Regions from separate parts of the Homo sapiens genome. Here regions 1 and 2 are each linked to region 3. Evidence: promoter capture Hi-C in human tissues and cell types (Jung and others, 2019). All regions are on one chromosome and are shown on one strand. The core of a region is centred on a gene start or on the middle of the fragment in contact, and the rest is flanking DNA. Distances in the headings are between cores, read along the strand shown.

What was found. The method cuts DNA at HindIII sites, captures the fragments that hold promoters and counts their contacts. A contact is called where the count stands out against the background at its distance.
Region 1: a contact is called between a fragment that was not itself captured here and the fragment with the promoter of SLC40A1 in region 3, in 3 of the 25 tissues and cell types used here (IMR-90 fibroblasts, mesenchymal stem cells and psoas muscle).
Region 2: a contact is called between a fragment that was not itself captured here and the fragment with the promoter of SLC40A1 in region 3, in 2 of the 25 tissues and cell types used here (mesenchymal stem cells and spleen).

Annotation. Positions count from the first base shown.
Region 1 is chr2:189,541,355-189,545,390 of GRCh38, forward strand. No RefSeq gene overlaps it. Among named protein-coding and RNA genes, the nearest start is that of SLC40A1, 37 kb to the right of the region's middle. The HindIII fragment of the contact is 6,237 bases long and covers 1-4,036 here.
Region 2 is chr2:189,615,031-189,618,942 of GRCh38, forward strand. No RefSeq gene overlaps it. Among named protein-coding and RNA genes, the nearest start is that of SLC40A1, 36 kb to the left of the region's middle. The HindIII fragment of the contact is 4,571 bases long and covers 1-3,633 here.
Region 3 is chr2:189,579,111-189,583,020 of GRCh38, forward strand. SLC40A1 (solute carrier family 40 member 1) reads right to left here and starts at 1,676. Exons shown (of 8, transcript NM_014585.6): 1 at 1,308-1,676; 2 at 703-770. The coding sequence starts at 1,350. RefSeq lists silencers at 1,630-1,689, 1,760-1,929. The HindIII fragment of the contact is 17,191 bases long and covers 1-3,910 here.

The DNA of each region.
Region 1 (4,036 bases), core at 144-2,643, 38 kb before region 3:
CCCTGAATCCTTAGAAGATTGTTGGGAGATAGATGTTATTTTCTTTTTAACAGGTTGAGTATCTTGCCTGAGGTGACACAGGTGCTGCATGACCGCAGCCAACTCCACTTATATGTAATTTCTTTACTGAGAGCAAACCTGACCTCTGCTAAGTGAGGTGCTGGGGTTACAACCATGAATAAGACAATGTCTTTCTTCACATTGTGTTTGCAGTGTGCATACACGCATTGTCAGTAAAATGTCTAATACTTGTTGGAATCAGATAGAAAGCAGTGTTTTTTTGCCAACAGACAAGAAAACTCCAGTCAGACATGATTCTGGTTCAGCTTGACCTGACCCGCTTCAGCTTTGTCCTGGGAAGATCATAAATCATGATGAAAACATTGCCCAGTCCTTGTTCCCATTACCTCTTTGCCAGATCCACACAAGTTGCCAAGGGACTGATTTATCAGATTGTTGTTATGAGGACGGCTAATGCCACATTCATCGTGCCAGGTAGTATCTGTACCCAAGATCCTCCCTAGGAAAAAGCAGCAAGAGTTGAAGTTCCGAGAACTAAGAGGAAACTATGACCTAAAAGAGGTCACCTATGACCACGGGTCAGCTAGGTGTGAATGAAAAATTATTCTGCTGATTTATGAAGTGGAAAATATGACAGGAACTAGTGTTTATTCTAGTAAATTCCATGAATTTTACTGAAATCTTGTCAAAAACCAATATGTGAATCTTTCAAACTGTTAGCCAAAAGCAAATGTTAGTGGTCTGATTAGTGGAGTTATCCCAGCAAGCATGTAAAATGTCACAAATGACTTTAACCTGGGTTAGCCTTGTCCTTCCACCTGCCTCTCTCTGCACTGAGACACCTCCCTCTTGTATATTGAGGAATGAGCTTTGTCCCTCATATCTTTCCTGAACCCAGGGAGTTACTCTGGCATCGTCATGACTCACTCTGCAGCCGGGAACCATCTAGAACGTGCAAACATTGTCTTCATTGATGGAGGCCGCCTTTCCTTCACATGGGGCCAGCAACAGGAAAGGCTGGTTTTTTTTTTTTTCTTTTTTCTGCCCAACCTATTTGTTTCCCACATTGTCATCCTACAAAGCAGTACAGGTATATCAGTTGTTACTGATTGGCAAGATAACCAAAGGAACTGGGCAGAAAAAGCAGTAGTTTAGTCTAAGAGAGATAGTCTAGGGGCAAAGCACCCAGCAAGTTGAAGGCCTTGCAGTGGTTCCTGCGTGAACTCTCCCCAACTCATAACCTGTTGCCCTGTCTGCACCTTTCTGGTGTAATCTCTGCTCCTTATGTAATCTCTAGATGCAAACCTCCACCTTTGTAAACCCTCACCCCTAACCTCAGTGGTCATCCTTCCCTCATGGGTTAGTAACCCTGAGTCATTCCATCTAGAATAAATTCCAGAGGTGCTCCAGCTGGGCAGTCCAAAGTGGTGCCATCCCAGGTAAACGTCATGTCTGGGTCCTCTCTGAGAATTTCCCATTAATGAAAGCTGTAGACATTCCTCTTTCTTCAGCTATTATCCTGTGAATGACTGTCAGCCAATATACACATATCTCTAAAGGACAGACATTCACTCTTAGGGATGGGATAGCCAGAGTGTAACTAGAAATCACAAAGTGGTAGCCACAAACATGTTTTATTTGGGGCTGCATTTAAAAAGAAGAGAGAAAGAGAGAGAGGGAATCAGTTTCTGAGGCAGACAGAATAATAGTCCCCTCCAGAAGTCCATGTCCTAACCCAGAACCTGGGAATATGCTTATTTCCAAGGCAGAAGGGACTTTGCAGATGAGAATAAGTTAAGGATCTTGAGGTGAGGAGGTTATGCTGGATTAATCAGGTGGGCCCGATGGAATCGCAAGGGTCCATATAAGGGAAAGAAGGATGAAGGAGAATCAGAGTGAGAGAAATAGAGGTGATCAAGGAAGCAGAGGGTCAGAGACAGAGAGATGCGAAGATGCTATGCTGCTGGCTTTGAAGGTAGTGGTGGAGGCCACAAGCCAAGAAATGCAGGTGGCATCTAAAAACCAGAGAAGGCAAGGAAATGGATTCATCTGCAGAGCTTCAGAAGGGAGCATAGCCCACCAACACCCTGATTTCCACCCATGACAAACATCTGACCTCCAGAACTATAAGATGGTAAATTTGTATTGTTTAAGCCACTGTCTGTGGTAACTTGTTACAACATCAATAGGAGGCTGATACAGTTTCCACCATTTAAAAGCAGAAGTTTTGAGGTTAAAAAAAAATCTTTCAGACCTCTCTTAGAAAATAGAAAAAAAAATCTGTCCACAGAAGGTCTACTTTCCAGGACAGAATTGGCATAGTAGCCTCTGCCTCTGTTAGAAGTAGAATGGGGTCTGCAGTTCTGTACCACTCCTACTTTCGCTGTGTTCTCAAATGCTGAGGGTGAAGAGCCAGCTACGGATTACTATGGACTTGGAGCTTGCAATTCATGGCTGCCCTCTTCACTCAGTACCCTTTCATCACAAGCGGTCACACCATTCTTCCTCTGTCCTTTAACTGACTTGAACAACAGCCTAAATGGCCAGTCATTTGAAGTTTAAAAACTTGCCAATGGAAGCCTTCTGCTTTTATCTTTGCCTCTGAAAGACATTAGACAGAAAATTGGAATGAACCAGGGATGAGAGGTAAGTGTGTCCACAGGCAAGCAAGAAGGAGGGACAGAATCACCCAGGTAAGTATCACCAATGTGGCTCCATATGATCCTGGGTTCAGACAGTTTACTTTGACAGTATTATTTCATAGGTCATTTGTAGTTATCACCTACACAAATGAGGATTCTGCAGATTATGATCACTTGAAGTCCTAGCTTTTTATTTTTTTCAATTTGAGGGAAGAGGGAGCCTAAATTAGATTTTAGCAATATCTGGTCAGTGATTAATGTATACTACATTTTATAAAATTATCTTTTAAATCCAGTGAATGTTAGCCAGAATTTGGGTTGTTTTGTCTGAAAAGAAAAGCTTTGGCCACAAAACAATCTTCTAATGGTCTTGAAAATAGAAATGCATAATGCTGAATGTACTTAAAGTGTGCCCAAAGTAAAGTATTTCTGCCATGGAAACCACCCGCTCAGCAACTTGACCACTAAAGAATGTTTCCACTCTATAGAGAGAATCTATGGCCAAGCCAGGAACACCAATGATGAGCTGTAAATGCTTGCAGTTATACAAAAGGCCACTTTATAAAATGGCGTTGGTATTTTTCTTTTCCAGTAACACTGAATATCAAAAGGTAGCACCGACAGTACATTTCCAGAAATCATAATCATTTCCTCAGTAAAAAACACCTATTCAGAGCCTTCACCTGTTAACAGGCAACTTTACCTGGCTTTATTTTTATAACACCTCTGAAGGCTCAGCTCTGCAACTGGCCAATCATTGTGGACAGGCCAGTTCTATTATTAGATTGGTTTTGAAGTGTAAGCAGTCCAGAATAGTGGCAGAGATTTATTCTCCAAAATTGGCTGTTCCCTCTCAGTGTAAACTCTAGTCAAAGAACTATTCTCTCTGGGAAATGGATTTGGAAAATGAGGTAGTTTTAAACTGCTTGTGTGAATACATTTTTTCTTTTCTTTCTTTTTCTTTTTTTGTTGTTTTATTTTTGTTTTAGATGGAGTCTTGCTCTCGTCGCCCAGGTTGGAGAGCAATGGCGCGATTTCGGCTCACTGCAACCTCCGCCTCCTGGGTTCAAGCAATTCTCTTGCCTCAGCCTCCCTAGTAGCTGGGATTACAGGTGCCCACCACCACGCCCAGCTAATTTTTGTATTTTCAGTAGAGATGGGGTTTCACCATGTTGGCCAGGCTGGTCTCGAACTCCTGACCTCAGGTGATCCACCCGCCTCGGCCTCCCAAAGTGCTGGGATTACAGCCGTGAGCTACCGCGACTGGCCATGAATACATTGTTTCAGGAACTAAGTCACTCTTTTCTCTGTGGTACATGTGATGTCAAAGTGCACCACGTGGGGATACACATTGTTAACCTATTTGTTTTGGG
Region 2 (3,912 bases), core at 98-2,597, 36 kb after region 3:
GCAGATTATAAGCTTAAAACTGAGTTCTAACGATCTTACAGTCTACTTATTATTGTACAGCATAGCTCAATCCTCTTATTGATGCCTGAATAATGGGAGCATGGTAAAAATATAATGTTTCCCAAGGGTTTCTTCACATCTAAGGGTCTGAAGACATTCTCAGATCCTTGTATTTTGAATTTTGGGGTGTGTGTGTGTGTGTGCATGTGGCTGTTTTCAATTCAATGATGGTATTTAAAATTATTGTTTACGGCTGGGCGCGGTGGCTCATGCCTGTAATCCAAACACTTTGGGAGGCTGAAGCTGGCTGGTCACTTAAGTCCAGGAGTCCAAGACTAGCCAGGGGCAACATGAAGAAACCCCATCTCTTAACAAAGAAAAAAAAGGAAAGTAGCCAGGTGTGGTGGTGCGAGCCTGTAGTCCCAGCTACTCAGGAAGCTGTGGTGAGAGGATCACTTGAGCCTGGGACGTGGAGGTTGCAAGATCACTACACTCCAGCCTGAGTGACAGAGAGAGACCTCATCTCAAAAATAATAATAATAATAAATAAAATAAAATTATTGTTTACTCTTACATAAATGAAAATTTTCTTTTATAGTGATAATTCATAACTGAAAGATGCTTTCATGAATTATGCCATAAATCAGTGTGTTTTAAACCAAGGACTTGACATATTCTTGGTGATAGTCATAAAAGGAGTCTGTTCTTTACTCAAGCATGAGAAACACTATGTAACTTTGGGCGAGTTGACCTTGAGCCCCAATTTCTTGCCCCATAAAACGGGATTTATAGTAACTCTTTCTGAGGGTTGCTCTGGATTAAGTGAAGACAATGTCTATAAAGCATCTTGGGAATTAGGAGGTGCTCAATAAATATTAGTTCTCTTCCCCCTCTGAGCTCCTTTTCCTCATTCTCCAGGGGATATGTAGAAGCACAAAGGAGATACAAGGACTCCAATTATAGAGAGAGTAGTTAGTTTTCTTTCTTCAAGTAAAGAAGTTAGAATGGTTTTAACAAGTTGTTGCCATATGTCAGGCTTCTATAAAGCTGTATGTAGTCACAATGTAACTTCCGTTTCATTGAGAATACATCTCATAATTACATATAGAATGTTTTAGCTAATACAAATGTAACCAGAGTGCTTTATATTTTCCAGCCTTCTGGGCAGTCCTTTTCATTAACAACCAAATAAACATCGTTCAAACCCTCATTTGCTTGCCCACAAGAAAATGAGTCTCCTTCTGGGTATTTTTGAGAGCTCCTTCGAGTCCTGCCTGTTTTATTGTCACTTGCCACTTTTTATTAAACTATCCTCCCAGTTCTTGGTTGTCACTGGCCATTCGATCCCCATACTCCGTGTCAATCTTTCTCCCTCTTTTTCGCAGCTCCCAAATGAGGCCAGAGCCCCTTCTTCATGTCCCAGGGCAGTGTGAAGACAGGTGGACACTAGATTGTCTTAAATTCTCTTCCCAGGCTCCAGCAGGAGGTGTTTCCAGACTCTTTCCTTGGGTCCTAGCCTGCTGTTGGGTTCAGCCGCCCTGTATATTTGATACATTTTTCCTGACCTCTTTCTCTCCAAGTTCCTAGGCCTCAATCCCCTATTACTCTACCTGGATGCTCACAGTACTCAAATCAGGTAGATCTACATAAAGACTCTCTCAATGTTTTTCCTCACAGCTTTAAAGCTGAAATATCTCCAAAGTTAGTAACTAAAATCTGGGTTCTCATTCTGTTAATATTATTAGCTAACAGATTTTATTAACTATTTCTATACAATAATTTCATTGAATTTGGGCTTGATTGGCAAGGGGAAAGATGGGAGTTCTAGAAGATGCAGATATGTATATATACATATGCATATATATATTTGTATTTCTGTGTGTGTATATAAACATATATACACACACACAGAGGGAAATAAACAAGACTGTATAAAAATGCTTGCCATCAGCTCTGCTGTTTTCCTTGTAGCAGCGCTTTCCAAAGCTACTGTCAAATGGGGACTGAGGAAGAAGGCTTCAGTCAATGTGACTATTGGGTCAGTCTGAGTAAACCTGTTACCCTCATGAAATGTGTTTTGAGTCTTATCTTTAATCATGGAATGAAAGGTTTTTGCTTTGTTAAAATATCTTCAAGCTTTGTTGTACAGGTTTGGAATTGTGATGGGGATGCCAGCAAAGAATTTCCTGTACTACTCTCAAGACTGACTGCTATCACTAGGTTGAGATCCAGGCCCAGCAATGGCAATGAGTCTGTGCAAACATATCCCATACAATCTGTATTTGAGAGAATTTTGTGTGTTTGTGACAATTGTACTTTGCAAGCTCCATTTGCCTGGCAGAATAAAAATACCTATTCTAAATTTCCTTTCCTTGAAAATGATAATAGTAAAGCATTTTGCCAAAATGTTTTCACAGGCATCAGCCTCACAACACCTGTGAGGTGGGCAAAGTTGGCCTTGTTTCTTCATTCTACAGATTGGGAAGACAATGCTCAGAGAAATTGATGATCATGGTAAGGCTCAAAGAACCCAAGTAATCTCAGAATTCTTTCATTTGCTGCAGTGCGTCCCAAACACAACACCAGGGTCAGATTCCTGAATCCTGTCCCTAAAAGATCTGGAGTAGGTCTGGGGATCTGCATGTTTGTAAAAATCTCCCTAATAATTCTGGCGCTCAGACAGTTCACCCTAATGAGGTCATAATCAGCAGATAACTGAAGGAAATGCTGACATATCTCGGTGTCTACTGTGATCATCCCCCCATCAGCTCTATGTTCAATTAGATTGAATACTCAATGGAACTGACTGAGAGAGGTCAGAACAGAAATAAAGAAAGCAGAGAAGGAAGTAATTTGGCTCCAGACTGCCTGGGTTCAAATCCCTGCACCTTGACTTAATAGTGTGTAAGCTGGATCAAGTTACTTTACCTCTTTGATCCTCAGTTTCTTCAGGTTTCTGTGAGGATTAAATGGGTTAATCCAGGTAAATCACCTAGAACAGTGGCAGGCACTTAGTAAATGTTATTTATTAGCTATTATTATTATTATTCTAATTTTTAAATCTAATAAAAAATAGAATATTTGACGTTTCATTTTAATGAAACACATATAATCACCAAATATATCAATTGGTGTTCTTTGTATACCAACATAAATCAGCTCTGGCTCACAAAAGCCAAAAGAGGAATTAATAGGAAGTCATGAGACAGCTCACAGAGAAAAGGAAAAGCTGAAGAATTAGATCCCTATTAGGACAGGATCAAGACAGCTATGAATATTTAGATGTCAGGAACCAGTTGACAGTCCCTTAGGGTCCTGTCCTTGGCCTAACATATGGTCTATCCTTGAGAAACATCCATGTGCTGAGGAGAAGAATGTGTATTCTGCAGCTGTTAGATGAAATGTTCTGTACATACCCATTAGATTCATTTGGTCTATAGTGCCAGTTAAGTCTGGTATTTCTCTGTTGATTTGTCTAGATGATCTCTTCAATGCCGAAAGTGGGCTGTTGAAGTCTCCAGCTATTATTGTATTGGGGTGTATCTCTCTTTAGTTCTAACAATATTTTCTTTATATATCTATACATCTGGGTGCTCCAGTGTTGAATGCATATATATTTACAATTCTTATATGCTCTTGCTGAATTGACTCCCTTATCATTATTTAATGACCTTCTTTGTCTCTTTTTGTAGATTTTGTCTTAAAATCTATTTTGTCTGATATAGGCATAGCTATTCCTGCTCTTTTTTGGTTTCCATTGTCATGGAATATCTTTTTCTATCCCTTTATTTTTCAGTCTGTGTGTGTCTTTATAGGTGAAGTGTGTTTCTTGTAGGTAACAGATTGTTGGGTCTTGTTTTTTTTAATCCATTCAGCCACTCTACGTCTTTTGATTGGAGAATTTATTTACAT
Region 3 (3,910 bases), core at 426-2,925:
GAGAGAGTTTTAGGAGCCCAGATCTACAGAAACACTAGGTCTTTTCCAGGACAACCTAGAAAGTCAGAGGGAAAACTGTAAATCCATTGCTGATATTCATTGGATGATTAATTTTAAGATAGCCTCCACTGCCCCAAACTTTATCTAACTATAGATAACATTTTTAAAGACCAGAATTTTTGTCACTCAGATATTTGTTCTGGGGGTCATTTATGTTTCAATTAATCTTAGAATGTTATTATTAGCTTAAGTCAGTCACTCTACCATTCTATTGTATTCTCATGGTGCTGCACGCTGGAACTAAATTTTAACAAAAAAAGAAAACAAAATATTTTAAAATGTGAAGAAGAGAAGGTATATGAGACATCCATCCATCTTTTGTAGCAGATATGTCTATTTACCAAAGCTACTAATGCAACATAAAATTTAAAAACAAGGCAAATATTCCTTTCCTTGATAATCTTGTCTGGATAGTTGTCTATCTACATAAACTACGATGATCTGATAATTAAGTTGCATTAACTAACACTCATGGGGAAAGATCTTCGATGTAAATAACGTTTTCATTAAAGCATGTGTACTTGGATGATTTATTTCTTTAACTGCTTGACAAAACTGGAAGTTGGCTTAATACAACTGGCTAGAACGAAAGGAAATAAAAAATTGCGCAACTGTGTTGTAAGACTATGCATTCTCACTTACCCAAGTAGAGAGAGAATGACCAAGGTAGAGAAGGAATTTTGCAGAGGTCAGGTAGTCGGCCAAGGATCCTGCAAAGACACAGGCGGGGTGACAAAAAGCGATGGTAGTCACTTAATGAGCTGAGGGCAGAATGCTTATCCATTTGATCTCATTAGAACATGATTATTAAAAACTACTTTGCAGGACAAACCACGTACATTTTATCAAGTTACCTATGAACCGATGTATTTCGTTCACTTAATACCATTCACTAAATTCAGTTATTGACCTAGTCAATAACTGCCCAACTTCACATTTCACATACAGTGAAGAAACTCTTGTTTCAGCATTCTTTTTTGGGTTGGTTGGTTTGTTTGTTTTGTTTCTTTTTTACACAAGGCAATCCAAACTGCCCAATCTACTCCATCCGTGCCTGTGTGCAAACCCCTTTTCCCACACCCTGAATTTCCTTTCTTCCTTAACGTCCACCAAATATGAGTCAAAGGATCTTTTTACAAAGCTATGGTTCACAGCAGAGCCACATTCCTCCAGAACTCGTGTAGAGTTGCTTGTCTCCAAAGCCCCACCTGGGTTTCCACCATATGCTTTCGGTCAACGACACTCACCACAGCATCCTCTCTGGCGGTTGTGATCTCCCGCCCTGGTCATGACACTAGGCGACCCCGCTGGCTCTTCTGCGGCTGCTATCGCTGCTGCTGCTCTCGCTGAGGTGCTTGTTAACAGGAGTGCAAGGAACTGGAGATAGCACCTCTAAAAACACAACAGCCTTGGGCAAAAAGACTACAACGACGACTTTGGCAAAGAACAAAAGAAAAGGGGCCCAGGGATTTTCTTTTTTCCTTCTTTCCAAACTTAGCTAACACTGTAGCTGAAGTTGGAAAGGCAAAGCCTTATGGAAGCGGTTTGGGAGGCTCAGCAGGTCGTCCGAGCCTAGCGGACGCCCTGAGCCAGCTCTCTCCGCCGCCGCCGCCGCCGCCGTGGGCCGGGCCCAGCTCTTATACCGAGTCGGGGGCGGAGCTCCCTGCGACCTCCGACTGGGGCCGCCCCGTCCCCTTCAGGGCCGCCCGGGCGTCCCCGCGGCGCGAGACGAGCTCCCGTCAACCTTGCGCGCCGGGCCGTCCCCGCGCCCTTGCCCGGAGGAGTCGCCCACCCCGGGCGCAAGCGTCCAACCGGCCGCAGACACCCTGCGCGGCTTGCGGGGACCTTCGCCTCGACGCGTTCCACTCCCCGGGTTTTCCTGCTCTCCGGGAAGCCGCGAGGGCAACCTCGGGGGGCGGCCGTGGGGCTGGGAAAAGGAGGAAGGCGCGTGGAGCCGGCGGGGCGGCGTAGGGAGATTCTGCGCGAAACTAAGCGTCAGGTGCTGGAAGAAAGCGCTGCGCACCGGCTACCCCGCAGTTCAGGGAAAGGGCGGCCGCCGGACGGTCGCAGTGCAAAGCTCCAGCGCGAGCTTGGTGGGTGGGGATTCCTTTTTTAACGAAAATAATTTTTAATACAGGTATCTAAATAAATATAATTCATGCCACAGAGGCCGCTTTCCTGGCCGTCCCATTCCGGCCCGCCTGCAGCAGAGAATGCCTTTCCTTCCCCGGACTGCATAGCAGGGCTTCCCTCAAAGAACCAGAATCAAAGGGCAGGAAGGGGGCGCAAAGATCAGAGTCCATCCCTCTTGAGAGGAGCAAACGGAGGCTTGCAAAGGTGAAGTCCCGCAGCGAGTTACAGACCTACCCGTATCCCCAAACTGGGGCCTCCAAATCCGTCCTGGAGACAGAATGAGGATGCTGCAGCCCCAGCAAACCCTTCACCATCATTCCTTCTCCCTCTGTACCCTCTCACCCCGCCCCCACGCGCGCGTCCCTTCCCCACCTAACCTCCAAATGCCCCAGTGACAGGCTTACCAGGAATACCGGTTATCCCAGTTGTGTCCCTGGATCTGTCCCTGTCCAGATAAAGCCATTCGGTGGCCTCCTGGAGGGTGAGGTGAATGACTAAAGAACACCAGACTCTAGCCTTGGTTGACTTCGTTTTAATCCTGCTGTGCCAAACCAACCCCTGGGGCATACCAGCCCCTTTTGCCAGTAGGTTACCTTACCCTTCTTAATCTCACGAAAACCCTGGTAGTGGATCCTACATATTGAAACTCCAACCAGATGCCACACCTTGAGCACAGGCCAGACTGACACCCAGTAGTGAAGGGAGCCACGCATGAGTATGTGCCCTGTATCTGCACTCTCAATCAGGAGCCCCAAAGGTCTACGGGGTGGGTGCAGCTGGATTCGGTTGGGATGTGGTCTGGTGAGTAGAGATAGGGGTTACAGTTTAACTACTGCTTTTCACTGCTTTTTGCCTTTTCAAGCCCTCTTTTTTCCTTTCTTTCACACGACATTCAAGTTCTTTCTCCCAATTTAGAGAGGTTTTGGTTTGCTAACCGTGGAGAATAGGGTCATTTATACATGCATCCTTGAGAATAAACCAAAGTATACTCAGATGAGTGAACTAAAGTGAAGGAGTGAACTGGTAAATAAACCCCTCCACTTTATGGCGATCCCTTATTAGAGATGAATTTTTTGACAGGTCCTCAACAAGGCACAAAGGATAGTGATAGTTTGCACATTTGTCAGAGTGTGTCTCAGCAACAAGGACCTCCAAGTGCTTTACATTAATTATTACATATTATAAGAAGGGGTGTCATGCTGTCCCCAACTTCCAGGTGGCTTTTTAAAAGTTCGGTTGGTTAAAAAAAAAATTACTTCCCGTAGACACTGTTTAAGAAGTATTTGTGGAAAGAGTGGCTAAGTCAGCATATACCTCAAAATGTGATATGGAGTCTCTGTTCTCCATTGTCACCAAGGAGTCCCCAGAAGCCAAAACCGAGAGAATGTTATAAAGAACAAATGGGATACTGCAGTGAAGCAAGTAGGAAAGATACTTTGGAAAGAAAACAAGCAAGGTTCATGACATTAAAACCAGTGAGTGAGCTGTGGAAGGGGAATCTTAAATCCTAATTAATGAGAATAGTTGAGATATGTTAGTTGGGGCTTATGAAATGGAAAGAAATTGAAAATGAAAATAGAATAAAAATCCTCAAACTATTCAGAAAGTGCAAAATGACAGAATTCTTTTGGCTTTGACATGCTAGGTTACAAAGCACCGCTTTAATCACAAGACCCTTCGGGCTCTTCCTCCTTCTGAGAAAACATTTGACCAGTTG